Regions from separate parts of the Homo sapiens genome. Here region 1 is linked to region 2. Evidence: promoter capture Hi-C in human tissues and cell types (Jung and others, 2019). All regions are on one chromosome and are shown on one strand. The core of a region is centred on a gene start or on the middle of the fragment in contact, and the rest is flanking DNA. Distances in the headings are between cores, read along the strand shown. Region 1 overlaps FBXO21 (F-box protein 21). Region 2 holds the start of RFC5 (replication factor C subunit 5).

The links. Contacts are between HindIII fragments. The study calls those that stand out against the background at their distance.
Region 1: a contact is called between a fragment that was not itself captured here and the fragment with the promoter of RFC5 in region 2, in 1 of the 25 tissues and cell types used here (IMR-90 fibroblasts).

The regions. Positions count from the first base shown.
Region 1 is chr12:117,173,583-117,180,449 of GRCh38, forward strand. It overlaps FBXO21 (F-box protein 21), which reads right to left. Exons shown (of 12, transcript NM_015002.3): 4 at 3,938-4,059; 5 at 1,069-1,215; 6 at 623-759. Among named protein-coding and RNA genes, the nearest start is that of FBXO21, 13 kb to the right of the region's middle. The HindIII fragment of the contact is 9,040 bases long and covers 796-6,867 here.
Region 2 is chr12:118,012,809-118,018,818 of GRCh38, forward strand. It overlaps RFC5 (replication factor C subunit 5), which reads left to right and starts at 3,895. Exons shown (of 11, transcript NM_007370.7): 1 at 3,895-4,084. The coding sequence starts at 4,020. RefSeq lists enhancers at 1,226-1,395, 3,603-3,772, a cis regulatory region at 1,311 and a silencer at 4,137-4,186. The HindIII fragment of the contact is 13,218 bases long and covers 1-6,010 here.

The DNA of each region.
Region 1 (6,867 bases), core at 4,066-6,565, 840 kb before region 2:
GAGGCCAGTGCAAAGAGGACCCTGATTAGTTTTACAGTTTAGTGTTCACAAGATACAAACTGACCAAACAGAGTCAGAGAAATATCTATTTTTAGTCAAAAATTTATCTCAAGGGTTTGCATATGGAGGATACTCCATGAGGAAACAGATAAACTCCACAACAATATCCTTACAGCAGAAGGAAAAATAAGTTTCATCGAGCACTCAGAGATGGAAGGCATAGTACTGACCTTCAAGAATGTACGGTCCATCAGAGAGAAGCTTAAAAAAATACATATAGGATGGGCACAGTGGCTCACACCTATAATCCCAGCGCTTTGGGAGGCCAAGGCAGGAGGATCACTTGAGGCCAGGAGTTTGAGACCAGGCTGGGCAACATAGCAAGACCTCATTTCTACAAAAAATAAAAAATTAGCCGGGTGTGGTGGCATGTAGTCCTAGCTACTCAGGAGGGTGCGGCGGCAAGATCGCCTGAGCCCAGGAGTTTGAGGTTGCGGTAAGCTATGATCGCGCCACTGCATTCCAGCCTGAGCAACAGAGCGAGACCCTGTCTCTAAAAACAGAAAAAAAAAGTTACTATACCTATATTACTATACCCATATATTACTGTACCTATATTTACCTGATGCATATATAAGTTGAGGGCATTATAGTAATCCATTCGATTCCCCTTGAACTTCAGTTGGTCGTAAAGGACATAGTTCATGGCATCCAGCACCTGGCTCTGGAGTTCTATTTCCATTATCATGGATGATTCACCTGAAACACAGAGATCTACTCTGGGACCCAAGCACAAAAAAGGTTGTGACAGGTGCCCCAAACAACTCACAACATGAAGACATTGGCAATGGCCTAACAATATTAATCAAGTGTTGCCAATCTAGGAAGCAGAAGGCAGTATGTATTTGAAGTGTTTTAGGTTCAACACTTCAACCAGGTAAACACGTGGTCACGTCATTTTATCACTTTTTCATGACATAATGGCAGCACACTAACAAATCTCTCAAATTAACCAATTCCTCTAGATTTTCTTTCATAAATACAGCTGGATCCAAAGCAATGCCACACCTGCCTTGAAGGCCAAGCTGGGGTGGCGACTGTTTATGCCCCGAAGGGTTTTGCAAACAAGCTCCACGATGCTGTCAATTTGGGCCTGGATGTCTTTGAGGCTGATGTCGGAGAGAGGATTGCAGTACTGGTCAATATATACAGCACCTGAAAATGAACAAGAATTACCGAATAAATTCTCACGTTACCCTTTTCTTATTAGTTTGCAATTTTACCCTGGACATCCTGGGACATGGCTCTTTACACCATCCCACTGGACAAGCTTCATGTTTTGGCCATGGACCTTGCTGCTAACACACTGAGAAGGAGCAACAAACATTTTCATAACAAAGTAGCTTTAACTTTAAAAAAAAAAATACATAAATCAAACTTCTCTCAGAAGTCATGGACTAAAAAACTGCGTGGTATATGGCGCAGTTTCATGTTCTATTACAAAGAGAAGTAAATGACATCAAGGAGATCTTTTCAAGCTACTTCTCTCTCCCTAGCTGTTATAGGTTCCAAATCCAACAACTCTGAAAACTTAATGGTATAAGGCAGTTCCTTTAAAAAAACAAAACAACAAAAAAAAACAACTTGAAAGCCCTCCATGACAGATGTGCCATTTCAACAAATTACACATCTCAAGGGTGAACAGTAAATGGATTCTGGAGCTAACCCCACTTTCCAATGAGATAAACAGTTATGCTCGGGGAACCTACAGCTGAAAAGCTGTGCAGAGCACACTGCAGACAGTCTCTTAAGAATCACTCCTCTTCACAGTCTTAGGTAATTTTGGAAGCAGAGACTGAAGGGCTAACAGCATCATTTGGGTAAGGACACCGTTATGTGGGAAGCTCTCGAGTCACCTTAAATTAAAGAGATCTCAGACCAGCTCAGAACCTGGACTCCCTTACCAATGCTCCAGAGCTCAAAGCAGTTGAACGGGTGTCAAGACACCTCGACCCCAGTCCCAGTGTTGCCACCAGCCAGGGACTGTCTCCTCGGCCTCCGAGGGCCCCAGCTTCCCTACCTGGAAGCTGAAGCAGTTTATGCTGCACATTTCTGAAGTCCGTTCCTTCCTAATGCTATGATTCCCAGACTTCTTCGATGGCATCAGCATTATTCCAGTCAGTCACCAAGGATCAGAAACTTGGAGAGCCAACTGTCATTCACTCAACTACTAAACAACTTCCAATGGCTTCTCAATGCTTATGACACTGATGTGGAAGTTCTTTGAAAATTATAACTTTGTATTTAGAAAATGAAAAAGGAGTATTTGTTTTCATACATAAGCTACAAAAAAATATACTATTCTTAACTGTGAAATAAACAGAAGATAGGATGCTTCTCAACTCCAGTATACAAATGAGGGGATTCTAGCAGTGAGAATTTATTTTAATCAACTGAAACAGATGTTTCATTTCCTTTTGGATGATACTAGGTTTTCATACACTTGATAAACATTTACACTAAGCATTGTGAGGTATACAGTGATCCTAACACAAGGACCACAACACGGGAAGCTTAGGGACTAGTTACAGAAACAAATGTATACACAGGAAACAGAAAAAATGCAAGACAGCTTACTATTAAATGCTACTGTAGCTCTGAGGTGAGTAAAATCTCCAAGTAGTCAGTGGAAATTTAATGGAAGTGAGGCTTGAGCTGAATTATGGAGGGGGAGTAGGATTTTCAAGAGGGATTATGAGAAGGAGGGATATCATGAATGAGGAAGTGAAGCCAGGTGTATTTGTGGGGCACCAGTCTAGACAATGGCCTGGCTGGAGCAAATGGGACATCCTGGAGAGTACGGAGCAAAGGTCTGGACCAGATTATGCAGGGCATTGAAAAGCAGGTAGAGGTTAAATATAAAAGGGAAATCAGTTGTCCACATTGCAGGTTTCACATGCAGTGGTGAAGGCTAGATTTCTAATGGGGCTGGCACTGGTATTTTGGCTGACTTGGAGGGAAGGGGGGGTAATGTTCATGAAAGCAAGTATTACTCAGAAAGTTGTTGCCAGGAGAGGTGGCCATAGACTGCATGAGACTAGTTACAGAAGCCAGCCAGGTGTGGTGGCACTTGAGCACGGGAGTTTGAATCTAGCATAGGTGACATAGCAAGACCCCGTCTCTAAAAATAAATACATTTTTTTTAAAAAAAGGAATAGTAACAGAATGGGAACATGACTATGAGATACACTGGAATGGAAAAAAAAATCAACAATCTGGTAAAACATCAGAAGTAGGGAATAAAAGTAAACGACCAGTCATATTTGTATTTCATAACCATAATTTATGGGAATGTTTGTGTAATATTGTAGGAATTCAAAATCATTTTAAAAAAAATGGAAGTCTCACTTTGTTCCTGTTCAACTTAATAAGAACAAAAAGATTCTCCACTCCCTTCATCTTGCCTGTCCACTCAACTTCTTCCTTCTCACCTTTCATTACGGACAAGCAGACTCACTGATGCCCAAGAACATTCTGTCCTCAATAAACTCCAACCTGAGAGGTTAAGGGATTTACTCAAGGTCACAGGGAGACAAAATTGGATACATTTACTTCTGATTTGGAAATGATCATTAAAGCTCGGAAAAACAGGAATTTACTTCATTAGCTAAAGTATCACTCTCACATTTTAAGCCAATGATGCATCTTTAAAAAACACTATTTCTTTAGTGGACTTTGATAAAATCTTAGCTCTAAATTTAATAGTTTGAACTACCTCATTGATCAGGCCCTATAATCCAACCTGCAGAAGCCCACGCAACATGATTTGCTTTTTCACTTCTTTACCACAAGGAACACAATTCCCTCTGCTGGTCTTAAAAAACTAATCAGTTACCTACAGAAATACTACTGTCCACATATATGGGAAAAGACCCACCTTCAAGATACGACTCATAGTCATCTGGCTGCTGAAGAAAGGCCTTAAGATTATTTAAGATCTTCTGTTGCCGCAGGTAGTAAAGAATTTTTTTTGCGTAGTATTTCCAGGTCAAAGCTTTTCTGGAAACAAAAAGTCAGTAAGAATTAAGATTTGAAAACTTTCAGTTATCTATTTTTCACATTACACTAACATACCATGTAGTTTGCTTAACAAGAAAAATATAATTGGTTCATTCTCTTATAATAATTATAATGGAAATAGCAGTCTTTGAATTGTAATATAATACTAAATTAGTTGTACTGAAATCTGAGGAACAGTTATCTGCCTGGCTTCAGACTTACTTGCCTGTATCTTTCATAAAAGGAAATGGAAGAGCAGCCTGAAAAAGGAATTGAGCTGGGGGAGGTTCAGAAGATGGGGAGGCATCTAGAACCTTTTGCTGGTCCCCCTGCTTGGGCCACTTGGGCCTGGGCACTCACTGCCATGGTGAGTTCCTCACGGTTTCACATATTATGAAAACTCCTATTTTCCAGACCAGAGTTCTCTCTTGAACTCTAGACCTTTGTATCAACTACTATCCATCTACTCCACATCCCACTCAGATAGCTGAGCACTTTCATCTTTCTTCCCCTCCCAGAGTCACCCTCATCTCTGATCAAGGCATCTCCATCATTCTAGTGAGGCATAAAACCTGCGAGTCATCCTGGATGCCTTGCTTTCTCTCATAAGCCATACTTAAGACCTGTCAGCCAATGCTATCGGTACTATCTTCAAATTACATCCAAAATGTGCACACTTCCCAATTACTCCCACACACCACCATCAGCATTCCTGTGTTGCAGCAACATCCTCCTACCTCAGCTTCCCGCTTCAGACCTGGCCCCTCCACAGTCCATCCTCAATACGGCAGCCAGAGCACTGCAGTAACACGTACGGTCACGCCACCCAATCCTCGCCTCCAAGTCTCCAGCGGTTTCCCACCTCGCTCCAAGAAAAAGCCCAAGTCCTAAGGAGGACTTAAAAGGTCTCTTGAACTCTCGCCCCATTACCTCTCTGACCCCAATTCCTGCCACTCCCCCTCAGTCCAGCCACCCAAGCATTCCAGCTGTTCCTTTACTGTCTGGCGGGTGCTCACCTTAGTGCCCTGTTCTTCTGCCTGGAACATTCTCTCCAGAGACTGCAGTCTGTTCTCACCTTCTCCTAGGTTTCAACTCAAATGTCCCCTTGAGTAAGGCCCCCTACATTATTTTAAATGGTACCCCCTCACCACTCCCCTGCCTTCTTCCCCGATTATATTTCTCTATAGCATGTTTCATTTTCTAATGTAACCAATTTCTTAGTGCCCATCTCGCCCACTACAGTATAAGCCCCATGAAGGCAGGGATTTTTTTTGTGTTGTTCACTGCTGTATCCCTAGTGCCTAGAATAGCATCTGGCACATAGTAGATGTTCCATAACACTTGTTGAGTGGATAAAATTCTTCACCACATATCCCAAATACATATGGGGATTATAAGAAGCAGGAGAGAGACAGTGATGAAACTTATCTGGCTGACATCATGAAGAAACAAACAACTTGCCAATCTTGAGAGAGGTCAATGAAAATCTGCAGAATGATCTATGTTTCATCTACTTTTTAACCTTTGAGTTGTAAAATATATCAATCTAGAAAATTGTGTGAAACAAACAAGTAGCTTAATGAATCATTACAAGGCACATTCCTGGATCTAACACTCTTGCCAAGAAAGAAAACTTTGCAAACGGCCAAGAAGCCCTCCGGGGCCCCCCGCAACAATAATCACAAACCACACCTCTATGGTCATCACTTTCTTGCTTTTCTCTTTAGTATTACCATGAAATATACATCCCTAAACAGGCGAGTCTGTTTTGATGCCTTCTAAATCTCTTAATCTACAGGATCCTCCTCCATCTTTTTTTTTTCCCTTGCATTTTATTTGTTGAAGAACCTGGGTTGTTTGACCTGCAGTTTCCCATCGTCTGAAATTTGCTGACTGTACCCACATGATGTAGTTTAACATGTTCTTCTGTCTTCTGATCTCCTGTAAATTGGATGTAGAGGCTACATGAGATACAGATTCCATTAATTTAGCAAGATAATTTCATAGAAGGTAGTGCATTCTCCCATCAGGAGGCAATAATGCCTGGGTGTTTCTTTTGTGATGTCAGCAGCACTGCTACTCAATGTCTTGATCTGTTCATTCATTTGAGGTTACGAAGTGGTGATATTAAAATTCAATCAACCCTTCTTAATTCATTAGCTGGGATACTTCTATAAGGAAAAACCTCCCCGTCTATTATTTGATCCCCCATGATACAGTACATGGAAAAGGCAGGATAAATGCTCATATCTTCTATTTACAATTTTTCAAAACAATGATATGGGCTTCTATTTATCCTTCAAAGGTGACCAATTAATTTTTTAGTATTATGGACTCAGAGAGACAAGCATATTCGATGCATTTCAATCCATTCCTGTTATTATCCACACTGATGCTCTAACTGTCACATCTTTGGCCACTGGAAGCCTCTTCATATTGGTTCCTCAATACTTCCGACATAAAGTAGTGTCAGTTTTCTTACTATCTGGTTAGGTTTCCAGGATGCACCACCAGGCTCATCTTTTAAAATCCTTGCATTGGACATACAATCAGTCTTTCTCCAAAAACCCTGGCTTCTTTTGTGGAAAATGTTGTATCAAGATGACAATCTGGAAACCAGGGAAGATCAATTCCACTAGGTTGGTTATTATTTCTAGATCTTTTCAGCAAACAGACGTAGGAAGCCTAGTGTTGATGTGCACGTGTGTGTACATGTACATATGCACATGCACTTACATATACCTACATGTATTTAAATATAAAATACCTTTTGAGTTCACACTGGCACTTCTAATTCAAAAATATATG
Region 2 (6,010 bases), core at 2,645-5,144:
AGGTGGAGGTTGCAGTGAGCTGCGATAGTGTCACTGTACTCCAGCCTGGGTGACAGAGTGAGATCCCTCTCTCAAATAAATAAATAAATAGGAAATCAAATTCCTGGAGTGCTTGAGGACTGAGAAGCAGGGTAGTATAGTGATATGACTCTCAAACCTGAGCGATTCAGAATCCCCTCAAGGGCTTGTCACAACACAGATGGCTGGGCCCCAGCTGTGAAGTTTAAGATGTCTTGGGTTTGAGGTGGTGGGAAGAATAATTAGAATGTCTAACAAGTTCCCAGGGGCTGCTGTTGATGCTGTTGTCCCAGCATGGGCTATATAGAATCAGACTATATTAGCAAGATCCAGTTCTGCCCCTTACAAGTGAGAACCTAAGCAAGGTACCTAACATATCTGCAAAATGGGGCCAATGATAGTAACTTGGGCTTCTTGTAACAATTGAGTGATCATAATAAACGTAAAGTGCTTAGAACAGTGTCTCGGCCATAGAAACTGCCTAATGGATATGAGCCATTTTCATTCATTCATTCATCAAACAGTTATGAGTTGAGTACTTCCTTTGAGCCAGGCAATGTTTCAGGCCCCAGAAGTACAGTGGTGAGTAAGTCAAGGTTCTCCTCCAATGAGCTTACATTCCATTGGGAAGGCATACAATAGATGACTTTGCAACATATAATCTAATGTCAACACAGGAGAATTCTACATTCCAAGTTAACGGAACAGCAGATGCACACAGAGTTTTATGATAAGTTGTTCTGTTCTTTTTTGAATCTTCCAGCTCAAGGAGGTGGCAGCATCATGCTTCTAATGCAAAGGTCCTTAGAAGGATGGTTCTTACCATGAATGGCTCGTACCATGATGGTAAGGATGGCCTTAACCATCAATAAGGGCAGATTATGGCATAGTTCCACTAGCCAATCCTTTGGGTTTTGTTTCAGAGGACAAATTTGAAACCAGAACAGTTTGGGTGGAGAGTGTTAGGAGGGAAGGGAAGAGTAGGGTGGCGATGTATTGGATGCTGCACATTTGTTCTTTCATTTAATCCTTACAACAATCTTTGAGTAAATATTATTGGATAAGGAGAGAAGAAACCTGCCCAAGGCTAAGTGGAAAAAGTGGCATCCCACCCCAAGGGTACCTAATGCTTGGCAAGGAGCAAAACCACTGAAGGGAGAACAAATCATGAACAAAGAGAGAAGGATCCAGAGTCCACGTGGCCATCTTCAAAAGTTTGCCTTTGCCTTGCAACTTAAATTGCCTTTCTCATGAGAAGCAAAAACATTCAAATGCACCATTTTCCTGGCATGTAGGAATGCTTTGGTCTACATGTTCACTGCACTGATTCTAATAATTCTTTAGCCTTTATAATTCTTTTCATTCTCCTGGAACACTTGAGGATTTGGGGACTTGCTTAGGTTTCTCTCCATAGGCTGTGTAAAGATTTTTAGAGTTGAACTGATTCGAGGCAGGTCTTCTGACACCCAAAGCAATGCTTTCTTGATGACTTCTCCTTTAGTTTCAAAAGCCACTGTATTAGTCCATTTTCATACTGCTATAAAGAAATACCCAAGACTGGGTAATTTATAAAGGAAAGAGATTTAATTGACTCACAGTTCTACATGGCTGGGAAGGCCTCAGGAAACTTACAATCATGGTGGAAGGCGAAGGGGAAACAGGCACCTTCTTCACAAGGCGGCAGGAGAGAGAAGAAAGAGTGAAGTAGGAAGAGCTCTTTATCAAACCATCAGATCTTGTAAGAACTCACTGACTATCACAAGAACTGCATGGGGGAAACCGCTCCCATGATCCACTCACCTCTCTTCCTGGACACCTGGGGATTACAATTCAAGATGAGATTTGAGTGGAGAAACAGAGCCAAACCATATCAGCCACCCTTTAGGATTTTACCCCAGTGTGAAGCCTGCGTCTCAACAATTAGATCGTTGGTGAGGAGGGTATAGCACCATTTATTTCTTTAGTAATCTTTCATAATTTTGCTTAGTTATTGTATCAGTTGTTTTCTAAAATTGTATCAGCTGTTTTCCTTTATTTTTATACCCATCACTTGTATTTTATGCCTTTTAAAAAACAGAAGTGGGCTGGGTGTAGTGGCTCATGCCAATAATCCCAGCACTTTAAGAGGCCCAAGGCAGGCAGATCACTTGAGCCGGGGAGTTAGAGAGTGTAGTGAGCCGTGATTGTGCCACTGCACTCCAGCCTGGGTGACATAGTGAGACCTTCTCTCAAAAACGAAACAGAACAAAACCCCAGGAGTGTTCAAAGACCCCAGAATTTGGCAATACATGACAAATATTTAATGTGTTTCTATAACTTTAATTCAGAGGCATCTATATCTCACCTCAGCATGTGTCAGCAAATTAATTGTAAACATGTGCTGATTTTTAGCCTTAGTATTTAAGAAAAACTTGTTAATCATTTATGATTCCCTTCCTGGAGATAAAAATGAATAAAACCAGTTTTATCTTAAAAGAAAGAAAGAAAAGTTTAAAAATGGCATGCTAATGATCTAAGCCCCCAGTGTTAAAGTTTCCTGGGAGCAAGCAGAGTAGGGGCACTGTCACATCACAAGCCCTAGCTGATCCCCTTCTTCGGGGTCCCCAGGCAGGGGCTAGGGTGAAGCCATAACTGCCATCACATACTTGCCACTGTCCCTCTGCTGTGTTCCTGAAGCAGGTGACAGTGATGTAATCCTATGCAAAGAGTATTGCTACCTCCTAATCAGAACACTGCTGACCCCAGGCCAGCCTCAAAAATCCTCCAGGATTTTTGTCTTCCTCATCATGTTAAAAGAAAAAAAAAAAGAAAAGACTTCAATATGGATGCTTTGCATGCTCATTGCTGGAAAATACAGACCAGGCCAGGCGCAGTGGCTCACGCCTGTAATCCCAGCACTTTGGGAGGCTGAGGCGGGTGGATCACTTGAGGTCAGGAATTCGAGACCAGCCTATCCAACATGGCAAAATCCCATCTCTACTAAAAATACAAAAATTAGCCAGGCGTGGTGGCGCGCGCCTGTAATCCCAGCTTCTCCGGAGGTTGAGGCAGAGAATCGCTTGAACCCGGGAGGCAGAGGTTGCAGTGAGCCGAGATAGCGCCACTGCACTCCAGCCTGGGTGACAGAGCAAGACACCAAAAAAAAGAAAAGAAAATACAGACCAACAAAAAAGAAGAAAATAAAAGTGATCTAGAATTCTCCTCGCCTCAGGAAAAAAACCTAAAATGTTGATATCGATTCTCCTCAGTATCTCAGATCACAAGGACCTTGTCCTCTGTGTTCATGAACTAGACCTTCCAGCGACACAGATTAACCCAACTGGAAGTTTCTGTTTGTTTTTCTCTGGAGTCGTTTTCTGGAGGTTGGTTCCCTAAACTTTTTGGGCGAGGGGCACGGATTCCGGAGATAGGTAGGTTGCAGTTGTGTTTGTTTGGGGTTGTTTTCATTTCCAAATATTCACCTCCCAGCTTGGGGGCCGAGAGGTATCTCAAGCCTTCTTTCGCAAAGGCATCTATATTCAAGACCCAGCCGTTTTACTCGGTGTTGTTTTTTTTCTTAGATTTTTTTTTTTTTTTTTGAGCCCCGGCAGCTTTTGTTCCTTTGAATTTAAGTGTTTGAAGCTTGGCGATGGCAGGAATTGGCTTTGGCCTTGAGATCTTAATATGTAATGATGACTGGGGCTGCAGGGGGCCCTGCCTCTCCCGCTGCCCTGCTCTGGAAGCGCCTGGGTATCTGAGAGTTCAGAGCAGGCTGGAGGGGCGGAGCTTGGAGGGACGCTGGCGGCCCGCGCCTCCGGTAACCTAGCAACCGACGCCCTAGCAACGCGAGGGGGCGGGACCGAGGGAGGAAGTCGGAAACTGGTGGCCGCGTCTCGCGAGAGTTGCTTTTGCGCGCGAACTGTAAGTGCCAGGGTCTCAGGGTCAGGTCGCGGCTGGTCACTGTGCAGGCGCTTGGGTGACGCGACGATCTCAGCGGATCTGGTCACCTTCGTCTCCCCGCCATGGAGACCTCAGCACTCAAGCAGCAGGAGCAGCCCGCGGCGACCAAGATCAGGAACCTGCCCTGGTAGGAGGAGGCCGAGCGGCGGCGGTGGGCAGAGGGGGCCAGGCGGCCGCGCGGGGAGGAGGTGGCTGGGGTGGCAGGTGACCGGACCCCAACCCGACCTCTTCCCGTCGTCTCCAGGCCTGCAGCCGGGACCGACCTGCAGAGGTTTCCCCCGACACCCCCCAGCTACCCAGACTCGTCCGTTCTGTTTAGGGCTTTTGCCAGTTCTCACCCTTTCACCCCCAGCTCCATTTGCCGAAGAAGAAGGCGGCTTTCGCACCTGGTGACAGCACAGGGGTTCGATCCCGCGTCTCCTGACGCCTGCAATGGCCTCCATGCCAAAATGCCCTCTTCCCACTCTTCAAAACCTGCGATGCGACTATTGGTCACATTTTAAACTAGTAATAACGCTCCCTGGTCAACTTTTATTGAATGGCATATTATTAGATTAGCAGACGCCCTGTTAGATGTTCGATCCTTACAAAGACCGTAGGAGGTAGGCACCGCTTCAAATTTTACACAGGAGGAAACTGCATTTTAGAAAGATGTAATGACTTCCCTATGGTCCAAGGGAGAAAATTGGCTTGGAGGTGAATCTAGGAAGTCTGAATTCAGATCTTGTACTCTTAACCATCCTACTTAAACAGCTATGTTCTCGCAATGCTTCCAAGACTTTGAAGCAATTTGGCTTGGCTTCGAAAAGCTGCAAGTTGTCATTGTCTAGTAACTAGTTCAATTTGTCTTTATTGTGGTTAAAAAAAACCCAGAAGATTGACAGTTGTAACTATTTTATGTATTTACGTATTTTTTTTTTTTAGAGACAGGGTCTCGCTCTGTCGCCCATGCTGGAGCGCAGTGGTGTGATCACAGCTCAGTGTAACCTCAAACATTGGGGTTCAAGCCATTCTCCTGCCTCAGCCTCCGAAGAACTGGGACTTTTAGAGGCGAGCTACCAAGCCCATCCTGTAACCATTTTAAAATGTACAATTCAGTGGCATTAAGTACATTCAGAATGCAGTGTACTGTTGTGGAGTCTTCCCGCTATCTAGTTCCAAAATTTCATCACCCCAAATGGAAATCCTTTACCCATTGACAGTTACTCCCCATTCTCCCCTTCCTCTAGCCCCTGGCAACCACTAATCTGCTTTCTATCTATGGATTTGCCTATTCTGGACATTTCATGTAAGTGGAATCCTACACTATGTGGCCTTTTGTGTCTGGTTTCTTTCACTCAGGATCATGTTTTCAAGGTTCATGCATGTTGCTGCTTGTATCAGTAGTTAATTTCTTGTTATGGCTGAATCATATTCCATTGTATGGACAGAAGAGATTTTACCTATCCATTCTTCTGTTGAAGTCTATTTGGGTAGGAGTTCAGTTTCAAATGCACTTTGCAATAGTAGGTGCCCATCAGGTTGAGATTATAGGCAAACAGCTGGAAAGATGAAGTTAGAACAGAGTTTTCAACCTCAGCACTATTGACATTTTGGGCCAGATACTCTGGGTGGGTTTAGGGGAGCTGTCCTGTGCACTGTAGCATGTTTAACAGCATTCCTGGAGACTACACACTGAGTGCCATAGGACCCTCTGCCCACCTGTGACAACTAAGTATGTTTCTAGATATCACTAGATGTTCCTAGGAAGACAAAATCACCTGTGGTTGGGAACCACTGGTCTGTTCAAACTTAAAGTGCTTTCTTATTCTTCCTTTTTAAATTAGGATATGAAAGGATTCTGTTTTTTTTTTTAAGACAAGGTCTCACTCTGTCGCCCAGGCTGGAGTGCTGGAGTGCAGTGGTGCAATCTCGGTTCACTGCAACCTCCGCCTCCCGGGTTCCAGCAATTCTCCCACCCCAGCCTTCGGGGTAGCTGGGGCTACAGGGGTATGCCACCATGCCCAGCTAATTTTTGTATTTTTTGGTATTTTTTATTGAATGGCATATTATC